Linked DNA regions of Homo sapiens: regions 2, 3 and 4 are each linked to region 1. Evidence: promoter capture Hi-C in 16 types of primary human blood cells and fetal thymus (Javierre and others, 2016). All regions are on one chromosome and are shown on one strand. The core of a region is centred on a gene start or on the middle of the fragment in contact, and the rest is flanking DNA. Distances in the headings are between cores, read along the strand shown. Region 1 holds the start of SPATS1 (spermatogenesis associated serine rich 1). Region 2 has its middle 13 kb from the start of VEGFA. Region 3 overlaps VEGFA (vascular endothelial growth factor A). Region 4 has its middle 40 kb from the start of VEGFA.

Region 1 (5,454 bases), core at 286-2,785:
CAGGCTGGTCTTGAACTCCTGATCTCAAGTGATCCACCCACCTCGGCCTCCCAAAGTGCTGGGATTATGGGATTATGGGCGTGAGCCACAGCCCCAGCCATCAACTATAATCTTAAATTTTAAAAGCCCAATACAAGAGATATCTATATCTATATCTATCTATCTATCTATCTATCTATCTATCTATCTATCTATCTATAATATGTTAACATATTTGTGCACAGAAAAAGGGTAGAGAGGAAGGAGCCCCTAAATATCAGCAGGGGTGTAAATCACTAGGGGTATATGACATACATGTGCATAGAAAAAGGACAAGGAATAACCCCTAAATATCAGTAGGGGAGATTGTATTTTCTAGGAGGGCCACAAGATCCCCTGTCCCCTGTGCTCTTCATACAGTATGACCATGATGGAGAGGTGTGATCTAAGTTCCCTCTCCATGCATTTGTGACTATGGAGGCAATACAACTTCTGCCTGGTCCTCCTGGGATGCTCACGTTGGAAACTCAGACACTGGTGTGAGAAAGCACATGGAAACGCCACACATGGGTGAACTGGCGCTAACCCTGCTGACCTCAACTGACAACCAGCATCAATCACCAGACACATGAGTGAGGAAGCTCCTCTGTGACCTCTGACTGAGACCCTGTGAGAGACCCCAAGCATGAACAGCCTAGCTTAGCCTAGCCAACGACCAGGATCAGAAATTAAAAATGAATGTTGTTGTTTAAAACAACAGAGTTTGAGGGTGATTTGTTATATAGCAATAGCTATCCAGGAAAAAAGTATTTAACTTCTGTATGGTGAGATCATGGATATTAATAATACTTTTCCATATTTTCCAATATTTCTATAATGACCATTTATTTCTCTTATAATCAGTAACAAAAGAAGGGAAAACTTGGTCTAAACACGAATTTAGGGACTTAAACTAGACTTGGAGAAAAGCTTTCTATGCAAGATTTATTAGATACTGGAAAGGATGAGGAAGACAAATTTAAGTCAATATGATGGAAAGAGTGGTGGATTTGGAATGAGGAAACTTAGAAATGAATCTGTTTTCTGGGTGACCTTGCGCAAGCCTTTGCTAAAATTTGGTTTTCTATTTTGAAAAACGCAGCTGGCTGTTTAAGGAAGATAATATCCACCAGGGCGCCTGGCCCAGAAAAGGCGCTCTGTAAGTGGTAGGTGGATCCTGTCTAATCAACGCCAATTATAACCAGGCATCTGCAAGCTTTGTGGAGGGCGCATCTTTCACTGCTACCAGAGCCTACAGTTCTAATAATGAAAATTGCCTGGAAAAGAACCACAACTCTTAAAAAAAAAAAAAAAGTCCAAAATCACAAAGTGGCTTTTGCAGCGGTCCTTGCCTGTGACGCCGGGCCATGGCTGGAGCTCCTTGCTCCGTACCTCTCAGGAGCCTCCATCCTGTACCAATGGCCAGAGAGCCGGGGGGTGACAGACAGGGGGGCCGGCAGCCGAGCCAGGCAGGACGCTGCGCGCCGCGTTACTGGAGCCGGTGTCCCGGCAACCCCGGAACGCGCCTCTGTGGGAGAAGCAGGCGGCTGCGGTGTCCCTTTTGCCCTAGGCTCTCGGTTCTCAGGCCTCGGCGTGCGGCGTGCGTTCGGCAGTTCAGTTGCCAGTTGGTTCGTTGGTCCGTGGAGGCCTCTGAGCACAGACCCGGGCCTCCCCTGGGGAAGGGGGTGGGAAGACCCCGAGGTGGAAAAGAAGGAGCACCTTGAGCTGGATGGGGGCTGCAGCGAGCCTGGTTCGGGCTGGGGGCGGACTCGCTGGGGCTCCCAGGGCTTCCAAACCACGAAACGCCCAGGTGGAGGGAGTAAGGCTCCCGTTTAGAGGCCAGTCCTGCCCTCCTGACTTTCGGTGGCTTGTGGAATTTGTTTGTTTTGACTGATACCTTTCTTACGAGGGACTTTCTTTGTCTCTGGGTTGCTTCTAATATTTAAAATCATCATGGGCACAGATGAGTCCATCCATGCTCACTGGAAACAGTCCACGGGGCTGCCGTCTCCCCTCCATCTCAAGCACGACCTGCGGCAGACAGCTGGAGAAGGTTCCAGAAAAAAGGGACTCTGGCATGACCGAGGTGGAGAGGACCTACAGTTGAGTTCTAAGAAATCCAGGCTGTGGAGTTGGTGGCCACATCCAAGTATACTACACCCGGGGGCGGGGGCAGGTGGGGGGCACCATTTGAAGTTTAGAAGGAAGCTAGTTTGGGGGCATGTAAAAAGAGCTGCTTGAATAGTAGCTTATGTTTGTGCTAACCCAAGATTTGATTAGGCAGAGAGCACCACCAAAGCAGAGAGTCTCATAAATTACCTCACTGGATCTCACAGCAGTGGAGAAGTATATTACCTATGAGTAAAGGGAGCCAGAGATTTGACCTGCCCAGTGCTTGGGTTAATAAAAGGTGAGCCTGGGATTTGACATGAGCCTGGGATTTGACATGAGTCTGCCATACTTTCGAGCCTGTGTCCTTTCATCTTTCCTTTGCTCAGATATTAGTAGGTTTGTGTCATTGTTTATTGGATGGGACAGTTCAGGTGAGAATTATGAACACTCTAAAAATTAAATAATGGCTGGTAGCTCCATAATTGGTTAAGGCCGAGGAGGGTATTTGGGGGCACGTTTGCCTTTGGAGAACAGTGTCATGGCGCTGAACAGCCACAGTCTCCCAGAAAAGCTCAGAGTGCGCCTGCGCTCAAGTTCTCATTTACCTGTTATGGGTGAGTGGCCTGAGTGCTGCAAAAAGGGGTTGTGAAATATCCAGACTTTGCGGGATCAGATCTTAGCTTTCTCCCTGGTCTTCTGTATTCTGGGTGTGTGATCTCCTCATTCTCCTTCACAGTGGGGAGAAAGGAGGGAGGTACAACTCATTCCACCCAGCTATTAATATAAGCTAGGACCGTAGAGAAGGAGGAGCTGGAGGAGTTAGAGCTATTAATTGTCCAAGTGTGTCTGCAACAGCAAGGAGAAAAGGGTTCTGGGATTCTAACTTTAAGCTCCAGACCTTCCTGCAGTTTCCAGTTTGGGGTAAAGGAAGAAGCTGCTGTTTTAAGGATGTCCTAGGGAGGATCCATGTTTTCGAGTTAGGGGTAGCAGAAGGGTACCAGGTCCCAGACCACATTAATGAAAGACCCATGGTGTCCTTTCCTGCTGTGTAGGTGAGTCTATTCAGGAGAATACATCTGAGTTTAGCTTAACATGGAGTCTATGGATTTCAGCAAGGAAGGGGCTCCACAAACCAATTGAAGATACGTGTGTGTGTGTGTGTGTGTGTGTGTGTGTGTGCATTTTTCCATCAGAGAACCGATTGCTTTCATTACTGCTCATGGGGGAGAGGATAGAATCAAAAAACGGGTTAAAAACTTCTGTCCTTGATCCTTAGGCCCCTTGTGAAGCAGATAAGCAGGGGTGGGAAATAGTGTTTGGTTAAATGAGTATCCATGTTAAACAAACATGGCTTGATGTATTATTTTTCTCCCTGCCAGACAGAGCTATTATGACAATCAGCTGAGATGACAAACATATGAAAGTGCTTTGGTTATGTAAGGTGTTATTCCTGCCTAAAAAAATGGAAATAATTATCCTGAATTCCACAGATGGCAATAAAGAAACAGACTTTCTTCCAAATTCTCTTTTTTCCCTTGAATTCCTTTCTGGTTACCAGAACCTTCTCTTGGCCTTTAATTACATCATTTCTTCTTAATTTTGCAGTGTTTTAGAAACTTGTTAGAATTTTCTGACTTCTGGCTTACTTGACATTTATTGCGCTTGAATAACAATTTTCATGATAAATGGTGAAACTTTCAAGCAGGGTGTATCTCCTTAGTGTGTTTGTCTCCCCACAGCCTTCTGAGCTAGATGGGGGAGAGGGCAGCCACTGGGAGCTGGGCGTGGAGAAGTAATTGACTTGCTCAGAGTAGCTGGATGGTACTCTATGCAGTGGGAGCATCAGTATTAGTATTAGCGTCAGTATTAGTAAGTGTTCAGGCTTGCAATTCCAGCTTCTCTTCCAGCTAATCTTCTTTTACCAGGGGAGGGGCGGGGAGGCATCTTGAGAACATGTTTAAGTGTCTCCAGCTCAAGTTTGAGGTTGAGTTACTCTCAGGAAGATGCCGTAGTCAGCTTGATCTAGAGAGTGTGCTGTTTGCCAGTTTAGCAAGAGATTGCTCTTCCCATCCTTGTCCATCAGACAAGCTTTCCCCATTATAGTGGCCACAGGCCACTTTCTAGAGTGCTGCTGCCACAAAACTTTTCAAGCAAGCAAGGAAGTGTGCTAAAGTTTTAGGTGTGTTTCACTGCTCGCTGCTTAGGGAAATGCAGTACATTTACATTTTGTTCCTAACACAAACAAAAAGCTTGGGAAAGGACCCTCTCTGATACCATCCATAGAGCCAACCAATTCTTGCTTGGGTGAACTCTCAAGTCCTATAGTGGCAATATACAACTAAAATGTTTACATGCTATGAAAGGCAGCCACTGTTAAAACCTATGGCCAAAAATTACCATAAGTAAATCTTACTGTAAATACCTCAGAACTCACATGCAATTATTGACATAGAGGACATCTTTGGCCTTGATTTCATTTCATTCACATATGTGAATCCATTCTACATCTCCAAACATGCATTTCATGGCTTTTTCATAGATACATTTCTAGATGTAGAACTATTGAGTCAAATGACATGCACTTCTCATAGGCTTCGGAAGTCACATATGGCCAAATTGCTCTTCAGTAAGATGGGGACATTCCCACCAGCAATGATAGGAATGCCATTCCTCCAAGCTGTGCCAAACACCTGGGTGTTTGCAAACGGATAACAAATAATGGCATCTCATTTTAAATTCGGTTCTTCAATTATTTGGATGGGGCCACGTACAGTGTCTCATGCCTGTAATCCCAGCACTTTTGAGGTGGGTGGATCACTTGAGCTCAGGAGTTTGAGAGCAGCCTGGGCAACATGGTGAGACCCCATCTCTACAAAAAATACAACAACAACAAAAAAATAGCTGGACATGCTGGTGTGTGCCCATGGTCCCAGCTACTTGGGAGGCTGGGGTGGGAGCATCACTTGAGTCCTAGGGGCAGAGGTTGCAGTGAACCGAGATCACTCCAGCCTGGGTGACAGAACAAGACCCTGTCTCAAAAAAAAAAACAAACCCACAAAATAACCACCCACTCCCCCAAACCCAATTATTAGGATGGATGAAATTTCCCCCAAATACATATTGGCTATATGTATGTGTTATTTTATTTTATCTTATTCTGAGATGGGGTCTCACTCTGTCACCCAGGTTGGAGTGCAGTGGTATGATCAGGGCTCACTGCAGACTCGACCTCTCCAGCTCAAGCAGTCCTCATGTCAGCCTCTCAAGTAGCTGGGACCACAGGTGTGCAACACCACGCCCAGCTAACTTTTTAGTTTTTTGTAG
Region 2 (5,491 bases), core at 2,214-4,713, 580 kb before region 1:
TGGCCAACGTGGTGGACACCTGTAATCCCAGCTACTTGGGAGGCTGAGACAGGAGAATCGCTTGAACCCGGGAGGCAGAGGTTGCAGTGAGCCGAGATTGCGCCATTGCACTCCAGCCTGGGCAAAAGAGTGAGACTCCTTCTAAAAAAAAAACAAAAAAACAAAAAACAAACAAACAAAAAACTTAATCCTTGGGAACTAAATGTAAGTGGAAATAACCAAAAGTTGTTTAGTGCCCAGGTGTGTGACCCAGGAGACTGAGCAAACTGAGTAGGTAATAGCAGCACCTTTTTTTTTTTGGTCCAAAACAAGGTGTGGCACCAAATTAAGAAATTGATTTCCTTGTTTGGTGTATAATGAAGTCTAAGATCAATTCATAAGGGGAAGTAAAGTCCAAAAATGCTATGAGCAAATTTGGTTTTGTTGGCCTAGGTGTGTAGGGTCCACTTTTTGAATGTATAGGATTTTGCAGGTGAATTAGAAGCAAATGATATGTGATTAGAGGCAAACCATTTACATTGCAGAGTTTTGCCTTTCCTTTCAGAAAAAATAAAGTTGAGCCAGATGAGCTCTCACTGCCTTCTTAGTCATGGAGTTTGATGATTCTAAGTCTTGAGGGGCTGGGGTGTGACTGGAGGGACGAGAGAGTAGTGAGTGAGGGCTGATTTTCAGGGACATGGATCCTAGGAGACAGGTAGGAAAGCGTGCTGGGAGAAGCAGTTTTCCCACAGCTAGAGAGGGTCAGGCCTCTGGGCATCTTTACCAGGCTTGAAATGACAGCACCTAAAGCCCCAAATATTTCCTCTGCTCTCCCTCCATGCCAGTCGCTGTGTTTTCTACACATTGCCTGGTTGGATCCTTGCCACGGCCCTGTAGAGTTGGTGGTCTTATGATCCTCATTTCCCAGGTAAGGACACTGAGTCACAGAGAGGGGAATGTAATGTAGAGATTCCAAGGCAGTTTAATGCCACAGCAGCAAAAGGAAGATGGCAAAGGAGAACGGAGGCCTGAAGGGGATACATTTCCCCTTGACAACATTTTATTGTAACAGTTGGGGATTGATGGGAGTATGTGTGAAAATGAGTCAGTGAGTGGTTTTCTGGTAGTTACTCCATGTAATATGGCTGACTGGCCAATGTTGTCCATTTAGTTATCAAAAAGTTGCCAAATTGTTAATAAACAAATGGAGAGCAAATAAAAGTTTCTCCTACAGAAGTTAAAATAGAGCTAGGGTCGACAGGAACATTCTGGGAATTGAACAAAGTAAGTGATTTTTCTGACTCACTCTGGGATGAATATTTTTTCAACCCCATTTGTTGAAAAAATGGTCTAAAACCCTATTGAGTAAGGCAGGACCCTCTGGGTGCCTCTGAGACCATCTGGGTGTAATGACCAGGTGGGGGCTCTGGTCTCAATATGAACAGCAGAACATTCTGAACTTGAACCCCAACAGATTCTGATTTGAAACCTTGAAAGCATTTGACTGAAGTTCTGATATCTGCTTGCTTTTTGGTTCTTTCTTTCTTTGAGTACAGAAAGGAAATTTTGGTTTGTTGATTGTTCATTCTTGTATTCAAGCCATAGTGGTTAAGAGTGCTGGTTTTGGAGCCAGAGAGAGTTGAGTTTAAATCCCAGCGCTATTGCTTATTTGCTGTATGACTGTGAGCAAGTTACCTAAACTCTCCTGGCCTTTGTTTTATAATTGTAATCTACTTCACAGGGCTATTGTTGGGATTAATGAGATAACATAAGGCACACAGTAGGGATATGATCCCAGACAGTATTTACCTTTATTATTTTCTTTTTTTTTTTTGAGACCAATTGTCACCCCGTTGCCCAGGCTGGAGTGCAGTGGCACGATTTTGGCTCACTGCAACCTCCGTCTCCCAGCTTCAAGTGATTCTTCTGCCTCAGCCTCTCGAGTAGCTGGGACTACAGGCACCTGCCACTACACCTGGCTAATTTTTGTATTTTTTAATTAGAGACAGGGTTTCACCATGTTGGCCAGGCTGGCAAACTCCTGACCTCAGGTGATCCACCTGCCTCGGCCTCCCAAAGTGCTGGGACTACAGGCGTGAACCCCTGCGCCCGGTCACCATTATTATTTTCATTCATAAAGAGTTTACAAGTAAACTGGGCATGGTGGCTCACACCTGTAATCCCGGCACTTTGGGAGGCCAACACAGGCAGATTGCTTGAGCCCCGGGGTTGGAGACCAACCTGGGCAAAATGGCTAAACCTTGTCTCTGCAAAACAAACAAACAAAATCACAAAAATTCGCCAGGCATAGAGGCACATGCCTGTGGTCCCAGCTACCCAGGCAGCTGAGGTGCCCAGGAGGTCGAAGCTGCAGTAAGCTGAGATCATGCCACTGCGCTCCAGCCTGGTAAACAGGGCAAGACCCTGTCTCAAAAAACAAAAATAAAAACAAAAACAAAAAAAAAGAAAAGAAGTCTACATGTGGATGTCTATACCTGCAGGCCTGTATTAGTCCTTAGGCTTGTATGGGGTAAGAGATCACTGAAAAATACACTCTCTCTGTGAATGCACTTGGAGAAAGATAACACACACACACACACACACACACACACACACCCCTTTACAAAATTAAATACATCAGACAGCATTTGAGGCTGGATGAAGAGGTATAGACAGCTCATGCTGTAGGAGTTTAGGGGAGACTGCTGAGCAGAAGTGGTCTAAGAAGGCTTCATGTTTTAAGAGGCAAATCTTCACGGCTGGCACTGTATAGACCAGGATGAAGAAATGAGCAACCTGTGCTTGGGGCTGTCAGAAGACCTGGCTGGCTGGAGTGGGATGGATGTGTAAGGGGGCAGGGGAAAGAAGGGGCCACACACAATCATATTATGAATAATAATGGGAATAGAAACTACCATTTGTTTGGTTCCTGCTATGCACAGGCCAGGTGCTCTTGCTACACCCTTTCCATATATTATCTCATTCAATCCTCACAAGAACCCTGTATAGGTATTATTAGCATGGGTTTTCAAGGAAACTCAGGTTTAGAGAGGTTGCATGACTTGCCCAGGGACAGATAGCTAGAAGTGGGGAGATCCACAATCTGAATGAACAAATTACACGCACAGACACTGTCACAGACAGGCACACACACACAGAGCCCAGGCGCGGCCAAGACAGTTGTCTGTTTCACCTCATCTGTGGCCCCACTCTCCTTTAGTTGAGTTAGGTGCTAGTTCTTTCCTTTGAGGGGTCCAGTGTGAAAAAGTGACCCTACTCCTCACCCCAACTCTGTCTTAAATGTCCCTGCAGCTTTAGTCCCCAGGCAGGCTCCCAAGAGGGCGGGGCCTGGTGCAGTGTTTAAGGAGGTACTCACTCTTAGGGCCTGCGCTGCACCTGCACGACCCTTATAAGAGTGAGCAGCTCCTTACTCCTTACATTTGGTCCTCGCCTAGCTGCCTCGCTTGCCTCTCCCTAGTTCTGACCCTGGATGGGGCGAGGGTAGTGGTGCTTTGCAATGTGAGCCAAGAAGTCTCTTTCTCTTCCAAGGTCAGGCAGAGATTCCTGAGGCTGAAGCCATTGCTCTCCTTTCTGTACTCAAATGAACAGTGTATTTCAGCATATTATCTGAATATTACTCAGATAATATTTCCACCACTCAAACCTACCCTTCTTCAGGGTCCTCCACAGTCCAGCCTACCTTTCTGTCCCTGAATCCTCCAAGCAGTCCCCGTCCCAGCCCTGGCTCATACCTCATACTTCTCTGCTCCTAGAGGGTGAGTCTGGATAGACAGCCTCCGGCGTGGTGCCCCCTCCTCAGGGACCAGGGGCCTGTGCAGAAAGCCTCCTGGGCATGCCCCAGAGGCTGGGAAGTCCAGCACTGCTCTCCCTCGCCCTCTAGAGGCTCGGGGTGGCACTAGGTGAGGTACCTGGGAGGGGTCCTGACTGAGGAGGGGGCCCTGGGCTTCCAGAGAATGTCTGGAGTGTGGCCACGGTTGGGCAACAGCTACATCTGAAGCCCACTGATGGAAGGTGCCCAGCAAGGTTGTTCTGTCGTCTCAGGCAGAAGGGGGTTCAAGGCCGCCCACCTCTGTCTGGGTGTTGCGGGTCTTCCCTCCTGTGGGCCAGAGAAGGGGCTCCCTAACCCGCACCCAGCCAGGCCAGTGGGACAGCCCCTCTCCAACTCCTACCTCCCTCTTGGGCAGCTTCGAGGAGCCTGGAGGCTGCCCCTGCCAGCCCTGGGGGACTGTGGCCCCGTTCTAGAGAGCCAGACATCCCTGAGGACCTTTAGGACAGGAGGGGAGGAAGTGTGAGGAGCTGTGTCCCAAGGTGGCTGTGATCGGGGTTGATGTAGGCAGAACCTGGGAGACGGTGGAAGAAATCTTCAACTCCTGGTAGGGAAGGACACATAGAAAAAGGTGAGGATGGTGGTGTGGAGACAGCCTGGGGGAGAGGCCAGAGTGGACAGAGGCTGTGGAATCACTTAACAAACCTTTCTGGGCGGGGAGACTCGGTGCTGGGGTGTGGGCCTCCAGAGGGGAGTAAGCAGGGCAGACCCACCCTTCCTCATAATACATATGCATAAGCTCATTTGCATAACAACACACCTGCTCACCTGGCCCCCATCGAAGTAACTGGCCTTGCCTCAAATGGTCCATTATTTTTGACTAAAGTATGGGGAAAGGGGACCCATTCTCTTGCTCATCCTTTTCCTTATCTCCCAGATTCCTGGGTTTGGAAGAGAAGGAGGAGTAACTGTGGAATGAGTCACAGAATTATTCCACCTGCCCCAGGGCCAGGCCACGAGTAGAGCGAGGATAGATGTCTCCCTAGAGCCTTACCTGCTGCCCCTGGGGAGGTCTGGGGCTTCCACCCAGAGGAAGAGCAGGGGTGGTCTGGGCAGCCCAGGAGTCTGGGGGAAGGAAGCAAGCACCCTTACTCCTCATGATCTCTGTCCTGTTACCCTCCCCAGTGCCTGGGGCCAGGGCTAGGTGTGTGTTATCTCACCTCAAACAGTGGCTCTGGGCTCCCCTGCCCAAGCTAATGTCATAGTGGAGGCCTCAGGCCCTGCACCAACATGGTTCCGTAGTCCCTGGAGTCAGGCTGGGGGAGCCCAGGGCTGAGGCTCCCTTTCATCCCCTCCCACCAGGAAAGGGTCTTTCTCGGTATTTCCCACAAACACTCATATCACCACTTGACAGCCTTTTCATTCCATTCTCCCGCCTCTCTCAGCCCCACCACACCCCTGACACATTCCTTCCCCCACTTCAGCTCCTGGATCGCAGGCAGGGGCACCCTGCCTATCCCCTCTCCCAAAGCGGGTGCCTGGGAGCTGACATCTTGGCTCACCTTCTCCTCCTTTGTCTTCTCTTCCTTTCCCCCACTCCCCAGCATTTCATCCAAGCCAGAAATGGGCCTAGAAGTCTGTAGAAAGACATCCCGCTGCTATCACTCCACAAATCCTCTAGAGAAGATGAGTTTGGTAGACCTCTGCTTATCTGATTTAAATTCT
Region 3 (5,457 bases), core at 2,958-5,457, 570 kb before region 1:
GGAGTGGAGGGTCCCGGGAGAATATTGTCAGGGGGAAGGCAGGGGGTGTCATGGGAATGGGTGAGGGGGCTGAGGTGCAGAATCCAGGGGGTCCCTGCAGGAGCCGCAGTGGTAAGCTGTCCAGCTGGAAGCCTGGTAACTGTTGTTTTCTCTTGAGAGGGGCTTCCTGTGACCTTGGCTGTCTCTGGGAGCAGGGCTGGGGTACCTGAGTGGGGTGCATTTGGGGTGTGTGGGAAGGAGAGGGAAAGAAAGATGGACAGTGGGACTCTCCCCTAGCAGGGTCTGGTGTTCCGTAGGCTAGAGTGCCCCTCTGCTCTGCGAGTGCTGGGCGGGAGGGGAGTTGGTGAGAGCTGGAGACCCCCAGGAAGGGCTGGCAGAAGCCTTTCCTTTTGGGTGCTGTCAGGTCCGCATGTCTTGGCGTGTTGACCTTCACAGCTTCTGGCGAGGGGAGGAATGATCTGATGCGGGTGGGGAGGGTTAGAGGAGGCCTCAGGCCTAAGGTGGTGCAGGGGGCCCCCTAGGGGCTGGGCAGTGCCAAGGCATAAAAGCCTTCCCTGGTCCCTGGTGGCATTTGAAGGTGCCCAGGTGAGAGGGGCTTGGCACCTCCTCACCCTGGGAGGGAGAAGAAACCAGGGAACAGGTAGGAGTGGGAGACAGGTGAGGCTTTGGAAATCTATTGAGGCTCTGGAGAGATTTGTGTAGAGAGGAAAATGTGGTTCTCCCCCAGGGTCTCCTCCTGGGTTTTTACCCTCTAAGCAACCTGTGGGCATGCTGGGTTATTCCTAAGGACTAGAAGAGCTTGGATGGGGGAGGGTGGTTGGTGCCCTTCGGTCCTCGGCACCCCCCTCCGTCTCCAACACCAGCTCACCCTGGTATTTGTCATGTCAGCAGGAGAAGGTCACCATGTTGTTTTTCTCGCCCCTAGTCCTTCCTTCCTGCCCCAGTCCAAATTTGTCCTCCTATTTGACCTTAATACTTACCATGGCTTTGGACCAGGGAACTAGGGGGATAGTGAGAGCAGGGAGAGGGAAGTGTGGGGAAGGTACAGGGGACCTCGACAGTGAAGCATTCTGGGGTTTTCCTCCTGCATTTCGAGCTCCCCAGCCCCCAACATCTGGTTAGTCTTTAACTTCCTCGGGTTCATAACCATAGCAGTCCAGGAGTGGTGGGCATATTCTGTGCCCGTGGGGACCCCCGGTTGTGTCCTGTTCGACTCAGAAGACTTGGAGAAGCCAGAGGCTGTTGGTGGGAGGGAAGTGAGGAGGGAGGAGGGGCTGGGTGGCTGGGCCTGTGCACCCCAGCCCCTGCCCATGCCCATGCCTTGCTCTCTTTCTGTCCTCAGTGGTCCCAGGCTGCACCCATGGCAGAAGGAGGAGGGCAGAATCATCACGAAGGTGAGTCCCCCTGGCTGTTGGATGGGGTTCCCTGTCCTCTCAGGGGATGGGTGGATGGCCTAATTCCTTTTTCTTCAGAACTGTGGGGAGGAAGGGGAAGGGGCACAGGAATATAAGGATCAAGAAAGAAAGAGCTGGGCACCACGAGGTTCACCCTCAGTTTCGTGAGGACTCTCCGCTGTTCAGGTCTCTGCTAGAAGTAGGACTTGTTGCCTTTTTCTTCTGCTCTTTCCAGTAAAATTTTATTTGGAGAAGGAGTCGTGCGCACAGAGCAGGAAGACAGTGTTCAGGGATCCTAGGTGTTGGGGGAAGTGTCCCTTGTTTCCCCTAGCTCCCAGGGGAGAGTGGACATTTAGTGTCATTTCCTATATAGACATGTCCCATTTGTGGGAACTGTGACCCTTCCTGTGTGAGCTGGAGGCACAGAGGGCTCAGCCTAATGGGATCTCTCCTCCCTTCCCTGGTTTGCATTCCTTTGGGGGTGGAGAAAACCCCATTTGACTATGTTCGGGTGCTGTGAACTTCCCTCCCAGGCCAGCAGAGGGCTGGCTGTAGCTCCCAGGCGCCCCGCCCCCCTGCCCAACCCCGAGTCCGCCTGCCTTTTGTTCCGTTGTGGTTTGGATCCTCCCATTTCTCTGGGGACACCCTGGCTCTCCCCACCACTGACTGTGGCCTGTGCTCTCCACCTCTGGGGAGGGAAGGCCCTGGGGTCTTCCTTCCCGCGAGTTTCCCTGACCTAAATCTGGCGTGGCTGGGTAGTGGCCAGCAGTGGTGATGCCCAGCCTGTTCTGCCTCCTCCTTCCCCACCCCAGGAGCCCTTTCCTTGGCCTAGGACCTGGCTTCTCAGCCACTGACCGGCCCCCTGCTTCCAGTGCGCCACTTACCCCTTCCAGCTTCCCAGTGGTCTCTGGTCTGGGAGAGGCAGGACAAAGGTCTTTGTTTGCTGGAGAAAAGGTTGTCTGCGATAAATAAGGAAAACCACGAAAGCCTGGTTGTTGGAGTGTACGTGTGTGCTCCCCCAGGCAGTGGAGGCCAGCCCTCCTTGGAGGGGCGGCTGCCTGATGAAGGATGCGGGTGAGGTTCCCCGCCTCCACCTCCCATGGGACTTGGGGATTCATTCCAAGGGGAAGCTTTTTGGGGGAATTCCTACCCCAGGTCTTTTTACCCTCAGTTACCAACCCCTTGCCCAGGCCAGACCTTCCTGCTATCCCCTCCTGGGCCACAAGCCTGGCCCTCCTCTGTCCCAATTGTGATGAAGGGGCAGTTCAAAACTTCTTGATTAGTCATCTTCTCCCCTATCGACTTGGCTTTAAAAAATGACCTTTTCAGACTTCTAGTCTCGTTCACTCTTTTTGATGATGCTTTGCCGTAACCCTTCGTGGGTAGAGAAGGATTCTGTGCCCATTGGTGGTCTGGATAAAAGAAATAGAGACCTCACAGGAAGCAGTGGACTGGCCTGTTTCCCCACTGTTCTTTCTGTTTTCACACCTGTGGCCTTCTCCCCACCTTCTTCCCAATCAACCTATTGTGTACATAGCCCCCCTCATTGTCCTTTATTCTTCTGGAAAGCAGACCTTGGAGGGAGGAGTGAGGGGGAGGCTCAGCTGTGGTCTCTGGGGGGTGGGGGTTGGGAGCTGGGGTGGAAGTCCACGAAGCATACACTTAAGATGCTTTGGTGAAGTTCTAAACTTCATATTACCCAGGCTGAAAAAAGAGCACTTGTTCCTAGGGCTGGAAATGGAAGCCAAAACACCACCTTTTTCAGCCTGTTTCAGCATCTTTAGAGATCAGCCCAACCCACTTACACAGTTGAGCAGAGTTGGAGGCCTAGAGAGGGGAGGGACTGGCCCAAGGTCATACCAACTCATGGCCAGAGCCTGGGCCTCCTCACTGGCCAGGTGTTATTTCTTCCCTCTGGGTAGGGAACCTATTTCAGGGACAGGATTGCTATGTGGTAGTGGTGGTGGGGTGCGATAGGCGTGGCAGGCTGGGCCACAATTTGGAGTAGTCATGCCAGAGTCCTGCATTTATTTATTCTCAAGGGCCCCGCCTCTGTGGCCCAGAATTACCCCTTCATGCTCCAGTGCACCCCAGGCTTCGTGGCCAGCCTGGGAAACTGTCTCTACCCTGGTCTCCCTTCAGATCAGCTTCTAGAAATGTTTCGTGGCTACAGTGGCAGCACTGTTTTTTCCATGATGCAAGCAGTTTGCCCTCTTGGGCGGGGTTATCAGTGGCTGGCAGGGCTGGCACAGCGTGTCCGCCCACTGCCACCTGTGGGTTCCAGGAGGGCCCAGCCCCTGTGCTGATGCCCACCACCTTCTCAGCTCATGTCTGGGGAAGAGGACTGGCAGGGGGAAAGGTGCCTCCTCCTGAAAGGTGCCTCCTCTGTTTTTGCCTAATATAGGCTTGGGAACACTTTGATGTCAGCTAATTCTGACTCCTTTACTTACTAGCTGTGCGGCCTTGGGGCAACTTACTTAGCCTCTTTGAGCCTCCTGTTCCCCATCTGTAAAATGGAATCTCAATAGTGTCTAATAGTACCATGTGGAGAAACTTGTGTGAAATGATAGCTGTGGACTACTGTACACAGTACTCAGGATGTAGTAAGTGCTCAATAAACAGCTGTTGGTATGGTTGACGTTATGGTAGTGGTTGTGGGGAGGACGTAGGAAACTGGAGACTAGCTTGGCAAAGCTGGCTCTTCCTCCTTTTAGGGAAAGCTTAGAGCATCCCCATGGGGTATACCCATACTCAGACTGTCCTCTGGCATCGAGGTTGGCCCAGGATTCAGTTCAGCTGTCACAGTGAGGTGGCGGGATCAGATGTGGCAGGCCATGTCCCTTGGAACTTGAGTACATCGTGTGATCTCTGGAATGAAAACAGGCCTTCACCAGTGTTGATGGTGGAAAGCTTAGGGAAGTGCTTCAAACACAGTAGGAGGGACTTACGTTAGATTTTGGAAGGACTTGCCTGATTCGGAAGCTCCAAAGAGTGGCATTACAGAGCTGGGTGGAGAGAGGGGCTAGCCATCTTTTGTGTCGCCCACCGGGCTCATGTGTCATCGCCTCTCATGCAGTGGTGAAGTTCATGGATGTCTATCAGCGCAGCTACTGCCATCCAATCGAGACCCTGGTGGACATCTTCCAGGAGTACCCTGATGAGATCGAGTACATCTTCAAGCCATCCTGTGTGCCCCTGATGCGATGCGGGGGCTGCTGCAATGACGAGGGCCTGGAGTGTGTGCCCACTGAGGAGTCCAACATCACCATGCAGGTGGGCATCTTTGGGAAGTGGGGCAAGGGGGGGATAGGGAGGGGGGTAACACTTTGGGAACAGGTGGTCCCAGGTCGTTTCCTGGCTAGATTTGCCTTGTCTGGCTCCTGCCCCTGAGTTGCACAGGGGAGGTATGGTGGGGTCTTGCCTTCTGTGGAGAAGATGCTTCATTCCCAGCCCAGGTTCCCAGCAAGCCCCAACCATCTCCTTCTCCCTGATGGTTGCCCATGGGCTCAGGAGGGGACAGATGGATGCCTGTGTCAGGAGCCCCTCTCTCCCTCTCTTGGAGAGAGTCCTGAGTGCCCCCCCTTCTTGGGGGCTTTGTTTGGGAAGCTGGATGAGCCTGGTCCATGGAGAGTTTAAAAAGTCTTTTGGTGTTACCTGGTAATGGGGCACATCTCAGCCCAGATAGGGTGGGAGGGAGCTGTGAAACACAGGGAGGGGGTTGCTTTCGGGTATCTACTAGGAGTCAGGGTGAAGCCTAGAGAGGATGAAAGAAGGGGAGGGGATGGGGAGTGGTAAGAACCTAGGATTTGAATTCCCAGCCTGGCCAACCCTTGCAGCCATGTCTTGGCCTCAAGTGGAACAAGGGCTCCTTGAGGCCAGCAGGGTTGGGGGAGTTGGGGTGGGCCTGAGCCTCTTTCCTGCTAGAGCTCTTGGTCCTCCCTGCCTCCACCACCCATCCCTGCTCTGCAGAACCCCTGGGTGCTGAGTGGCAGGAGCCCCAGGGTTGTCCCATCTGGGTATGGCTGGCTGGGTCACTAACCTCTGTGATCTGCTTCCTTCCTTT
Region 4 (5,737 bases), core at 1,386-3,885, 610 kb before region 1:
CAGGGCCTGGCACAGATACAGTGCTCAGTAAACTGTTTGTTGAGTGAATAAATGAATGAATGAATGAATGGAAAAAAATTCCAGAGGACTCAGTTGCTGTTGCTCTTCCTTCCAGACTCTGGGAACTAGTGGAAAGTCTTCAGCCACAGGAGATGTGGGAGAATATTCTTTCTGGATCTCTGTTTTGGTTTCTCTGTGTGATTTGGTGTGTGCGCAGAGTGGGTACACAGGGCGGAAAGCATGAGAAGAAGATTGGAAATGAAATAATCTCTGGGAAATGACTCCCTGAATAATTATTTCATGTCCAAAGGCAAGAGAGGATAGAAACAGAATATGTAGGTGTGGGCCCAGAGGAGGCCCCTAGTAAATGTTTGATGAATGAATGAGTGAGTGAGGCCTTTGAAGAAAGGCCCAGGCCATGATTTTCTTTGTAGTCCCAGACCCTAGGATGGGCTCAGACTAGAATATGATACGTTTGCTGAATGAATGAATGAATGAATAAATGAATGCACACATGAGCACAAAGGAGCATGGAAATGATTGGAAAGGGTGAGTGCTGCAAAGGACCTCAGAGTGCTGGTGAACCAGACCAGGGACAAAGATTCCAGCCTTGGTCCTTTCTCCATGAGTCAGGGTCTGAAAGTAAGGAAGGGGTCTGGTGAACGCTTAAAGCCTGGTTTCCCAGTCATTCTTTCCAGATGATCTGTGTGGGGTATTGTGCAAAGACGAATAATAATTGGAAAAATAATAAGAGCCCTGCCAGGTACAGTGGCTTACACCTGTAATCCCAGCACTTTGGGAGGCTGAGGCAGGTGGATTGCTTGAGCCCAGGAGTTTAAGATAAGACCAGCCTGGGCAATATGGTGAAATCCTGTCTCTACAAAAGATAGAAAAATTAGCCAGATGTGGTGGCGCGTGCCTGTAGTCCCAGCTACTCAGGAAGCTGAGCCTGGGGAGGTTGAGGCTACAGTAAGCCATGATCATGCCACTGCACTCCAGCCTGGGTGATGGAGTGAGACCTTGTTTCAAAACAAACAAACAAATGAACAAACAAACAATAAGAGCTCATATATATTGAGCACATACTATGTGCCAGGTTCTGCTCCAAGCTCTTTACTTGTTTTCAGTCATATCATCCTTTCAGCAACCACATGAAGTATTTTTCTCATTTTATAAAAGAGGAAACTGAGGCACAGAGACGGGCAATGTCCGTCCACGATCACATAGCTAGCCAGTGAACACACAGTCATCACTCGGGCTTGCTGGGGACAGCAGCGGCTGCCCACCTGTGTACCTAGGGGAAGGTCCTTTGTGCTTGGGTCTTGCTCTGGTTCTATCACCTCTCCAGGCCTCAGACCTTCATTTGCAGAATAGGAACATAACATTTTGATGTTCTGGGACATGGAAGTCAGAGGACTTTGTAAGCTATAAAGGGCTACCGGGATCTTTTAATGGAAATTTCCTCCTCCTCATCATGAATCACCATCATCTTCATCATGATCATCTCTAGACCTGGCCTCCTGCCATTAATATGCCAGGCTGGGCTGCAACCCTGGAAATCCTGGTAAGACAGACAAACTTACTTCCCACTCAGGGATAATTATTATCTAATTTGGCTTCCACTTATCTCTTATTTCCATTCTTCTTTTCTACCTTCTAAGCCTTGACTCACCTCCAGCCCCAGCTTCTCCTTCCTCAATCATCGGCCTCCCAGACTCTGGGCTTCTCTCCACCCCTATTAACTAATTTGCTGAATATGTAAATCAAAACTTGTTACTCTCCTGCCCTTGTGCCAAGAACCAACTCTAAACTCTTTTTATGAGATGAAAGGCATTGGTAATGTGGCCCGTGGAAACAACTCTTTTTCAGTCACCCCCAATGCCCTCCAGCCATGCCACATGGTTGGCAATTCCTGTAATAGGGTATTATTTTCATTCCTCTTTGCTCTTACCTGTGCTGTTCCCTCTGCCTAGCAGGTTCTTTCCAACTTTGTCTCCGTAGTAAATGTCCACGTATTCATTTTACCCTTCAGAACAAAAATGGCATTATTGTTTTTCCCAGTTATAAGAGTGAAGAGCGCTCATTGTATATAATTCAAACACTGTAGAAAAAACTAGAAAAAAAAGGAAATGTTTCTTCTTCCCATAGTTTCAACAACTGGAGATAACCACCGCTAAAATACGGTGGTTAAAATCATGAATGTTTTTCTATGCATTTATACACATATATCTTTAAATATGTATAAATACATACATATTTGCAAACATGAGATAATTCACCCTATATGGTAACCTACTTTTTGTCCTGAGTAAAATATTTTGGGTATCTTTTCCTGTGAATAATTAGTTTTACATAATAATTTTTTGTTCTTCAAAACTGAATTCCAATTCAAATGTTTATTCTCCTGGAAGGCTCTCCTGGTTTCCTACTTCCCTCCCAGTCCCCACCCACAGTGCCCCACCTCCGAGGACTCATCGTACCTTGTACCTCTTTCTTTGAAATCTTTGCCAATTATAAGGTCGTTAACTGATTTAAAAGGCAAATGTGTAAAACAATAATTATAAATCTACGTTAATGCGCACACAAGGTATAAAGATGTAATCTGTAACAATAATAATATAAAGGGGGAAGAATGGATAGGCAAAGGAGCAGAGGCCGGGCATGGTAGCTCATGCCTGTAATCTCAGCACTTTGGAGGCTGAGGCATGAGGATCAGTTGAGGCCAGGAGTTTGAGACCAGCCTGGATAACATAGTGAGACCCCATTCAACAACAACAACAACAACAACAACAAATTTAAAATTAGCCAGGCATGGTGGTGCATGCCTGTAGTCTTAAGTACTTGGGAGGCTGAGGCGGGAGAATCTCTTGAGCCTAGGAGGTTGAGGCCTCAGTGAGCTGTGATTGTGCCACCACTCCAGCCTGGGTGACAGAGTGAGACCCTATCTTTAAAAAAAATAAATAAGGAGGCTAGGTATGGTGGCTTACGCCTGTAATCCCAGCACTTTGGGAGGCCAAGGTGGGTGGATCACTTGAGGTCAGGAGTTTGAGACCAGCCTGGCCAACATGGTGAAACCCCATCTCTACTAAAAATACAAAAATTTGAGCATAGTGGTGAGTGCCTGTAATCCCAGCTACTAGGGAGGCTGAGGCAGGAGAATTGCTTGAACTTGGAAGGCAGAGGTTGCATTGAGCTGAGATTGTGCCACTGCACTCCAGCCTGGGTGACAGAGCGAGACTTCATGTCAAATAAATAAATAAATAAGTAATAAAAAATTGTAAAAAAGGAGCAGAACATTTGTATACTATTGAAACTAAGTTGGTATTATTAAAACTAAGTTGTTATAAGGTTAAGATGTTAATTGTAATCACAAGGTAACTAAGACAATGACTAAAAAATATGCAAAAAAGGAAACAGAAGTGAATCAAAATGGTACACTAGAAAAAAATCAACTAAATACATAAAAGGTAGTAATGGAGGAATTGGGGAACAAAAACACACAAGCATACAGAAAAACAAATAACTAAATGGGAGAAGTAAATCATTCTTTATCAGTAATTACATTAAATATAAATGAGTAAAATTCTCTTATTAAAAGGCAGAGATTGGCAGACTGAATAAAAAATGATATACTGTCTACAAGAGACTCATTTTAGATATAAGAGCATAAAGTGATTGAAAGTAAAAGGATGGAAAAAGATATCCAATGCAAATAAATAGTAATCAAAAAAGAGCTGGGATAGCTATATTATTGCTACACAAAATAGATATTAAGTCAAAAAAGTTCACCTAGCAGATATAACAATTATAAACATATACATACCTAAAAACATATACATACCTAAACCCAAACTATATGAAGCAAAAATGGACATAATTAAAGGGAGAAATAGACAGTTCTAAAATAATACTTGGAGACTTCAACACCTCACTTTCAATAATGGATAGAACAATCAGACAGAAAATCAATAAAGAAATAGACAACTGAACAATGTCATGAGTCAGTTATATCTAACAGAAATATATAGAACACTTCAATCAACAACAGCAGAATAAGCATTCTTCTCAAGTATGCGTGGAACCTTCTCCAGGATGGACCACATGTTAGGTCACAAGACAAATCTTATTAAGTTTAAAAAGATTGAAATAATATATGTTCAATTACAGAGGGATACAACTAGAAATCAACAACAGAAGGAAGACAATAATTTTAGAACTATGTAGAATTTAAACAACACACTCTTAAACAACTAGTGGGTCCAAGAAGAAATCACAAGGAAAATGAGAAAACACTTTGAGAAAAATGAAACGAAAACACAACACACCCAAACTAATGGAGTATATCAAAAGTAGTACTCAGAGAGAAGTTTATGGCTGTTAATGCCTACATTAAAAAGAAGAAAAATCTCAAATCAAGAACTTAACTGTACACCTTAGGGAACTAGAAAAAGAAAAGCAAACTAACCCTAAAACTAGCAGAAGGAAGGAAATAATAAAAATTAGAATAGAGATAAACAAAATAGATAATAGAAAAACAATAGAAAAAAATAAACAAAGCTAAACATTGGTTCTTTGAAAAGGTCAACAAAATTGACAAACCTTTAGCTAGATTGACTAAGAAAAAGAGAGAAGACTCAAGCTACTAAAATCAGACATGAAAGTGGAGACATTACTACTGATCTTATAGACATAGAAAGGATTATAAGATAATACTATGAACAATTACACACCAACCAATTAGATGACTTAGATGAAATGGACAAATTCCTGGAAACACAAACTATCAAAACCAACTTAAAAGGAAATAGAAAACTTGAATAGAGATATAACAAGTGAAGAGATTGAATCAGCAATCAAAAACCTCCCAACAAATAAGAGTCCAGGACTAGATATCTTCACTGGTGAATTCTACCTAACATGTAAAGAAAAATTGACACCAATCCTTCTCAAACTCTTCCAAAACATTGAAGAGGAGAGAACCTTTCCAACTCATTCTGTGATGCCAACGTTACCCTGATACCAAGCCAAAGACACTACAAGAAAACTATAGGCCAACATACCTTAAGCATAGAGATGCAAACATCCTCAACAAAAAACTGGCAAACCAAATTTAGCAGCATATTAAAAGGATTACACACCATGACCAAGTGGGATTTATCCCCATAATGTAAGGATGGTTTAACATACAAAAATCAGTCAATATAATGTACTACATTAATAGAATGAAGGAAAAAAGAGCCATACACAATTGTTTCAGTTGATGCAGAAAAAGCATTTGAGAAAATACAAAAATTTCTTGATTAAAAACACTTAATAAACTAGGAATAGAACTTCCTTAACATGAAAAAGTTGTATATGAAAAACCCACAGCTAACATCATATTCAATGGCAAAAGATTGAAAGCTTTCCCCCTACAATCAGGACAAGATAAGAATGGCTGCTTTTGTCACTTCTATTCAACACAGTAATGGAAGTTCTAGCCAGAGCAATTAGGCAAGAAATAAAAGGCACCCAGATTGGAAAGAAAGAAATAAAATGATCTCTGTTTGCAGATGATATGGATAAAATACCAAAATTTAAGAGCTAAAACTGTAAAACTCTTAAAAAAAAAGTGAGCCAGGTGTGGTGGTTCATGCCTGTCACCCCAGCATTTTGGGAGGCTGAGGTGGGAGGACTGCTTGAGCCCAGAGTTTGAGACTAGCCTGGGCAGTATAGTGGGACCTCATCTCTACAAATG

What was found. The method cuts DNA at HindIII sites, captures the fragments that hold promoters and counts their contacts. A CHiCAGO score of 5 or more calls a contact.
Region 2: a contact is called between a fragment that was not itself captured here and the fragment with the promoter of SPATS1 in region 1, in 2 of 17 cell types (fetal thymus and neutrophils). The highest score is 5.3, in fetal thymus.
Region 3: a contact is called between a fragment that was not itself captured here and the fragment with the promoter of SPATS1 in region 1, in 1 of 17 cell types (naive B cells). The highest score is 7.3, in naive B cells.
Region 4: a fragment that was not itself captured here is called in contact with the fragment with the promoter of SPATS1 in region 1 in 1 of 17 cell types (non-activated CD4 T cells); the score reaches 6.0 in non-activated CD4 T cells.

What each region holds. Positions count from the first base shown.
Region 1 is chr6:44,341,115-44,346,568 of GRCh38, forward strand. SPATS1 (spermatogenesis associated serine rich 1) reads left to right here and starts at 1,536. Exons shown (of 9, transcript NM_001372081.1): 1 at 1,536-1,654; 2 at 1,982-2,120. The coding sequence starts at 1,982. The HindIII fragment of the contact is 2,984 bases long and covers 1,233-4,216 here.
Region 2 is chr6:43,754,812-43,760,302 of GRCh38, forward strand. No RefSeq gene overlaps it. Among named protein-coding and RNA genes, the nearest start is that of VEGFA, 13 kb to the right of the region's middle. RefSeq lists enhancers at 3,582-4,118, 3,734-3,793, 5,474-5,491. The HindIII fragment of the contact is 9,019 bases long and covers 1-5,491 here.
Region 3 is chr6:43,772,999-43,778,455 of GRCh38, forward strand. It overlaps VEGFA (vascular endothelial growth factor A), which reads left to right. Exons shown (of 8, transcript NM_003376.6): 2 at 1,343-1,394; 3 at 4,471-4,667. Among named protein-coding and RNA genes, the nearest start is that of VEGFA, 5.5 kb to the left of the region's middle. RefSeq lists enhancers at 1-701, 1,754-2,048. The HindIII fragment of the contact is 190 bases long and covers 4,113-4,302 here.
Region 4 is chr6:43,727,267-43,733,003 of GRCh38, forward strand. No RefSeq gene overlaps it. Among named protein-coding and RNA genes, the nearest start is that of VEGFA, 40 kb to the right of the region's middle. The HindIII fragment of the contact is 5,532 bases long and covers 1-5,401 here.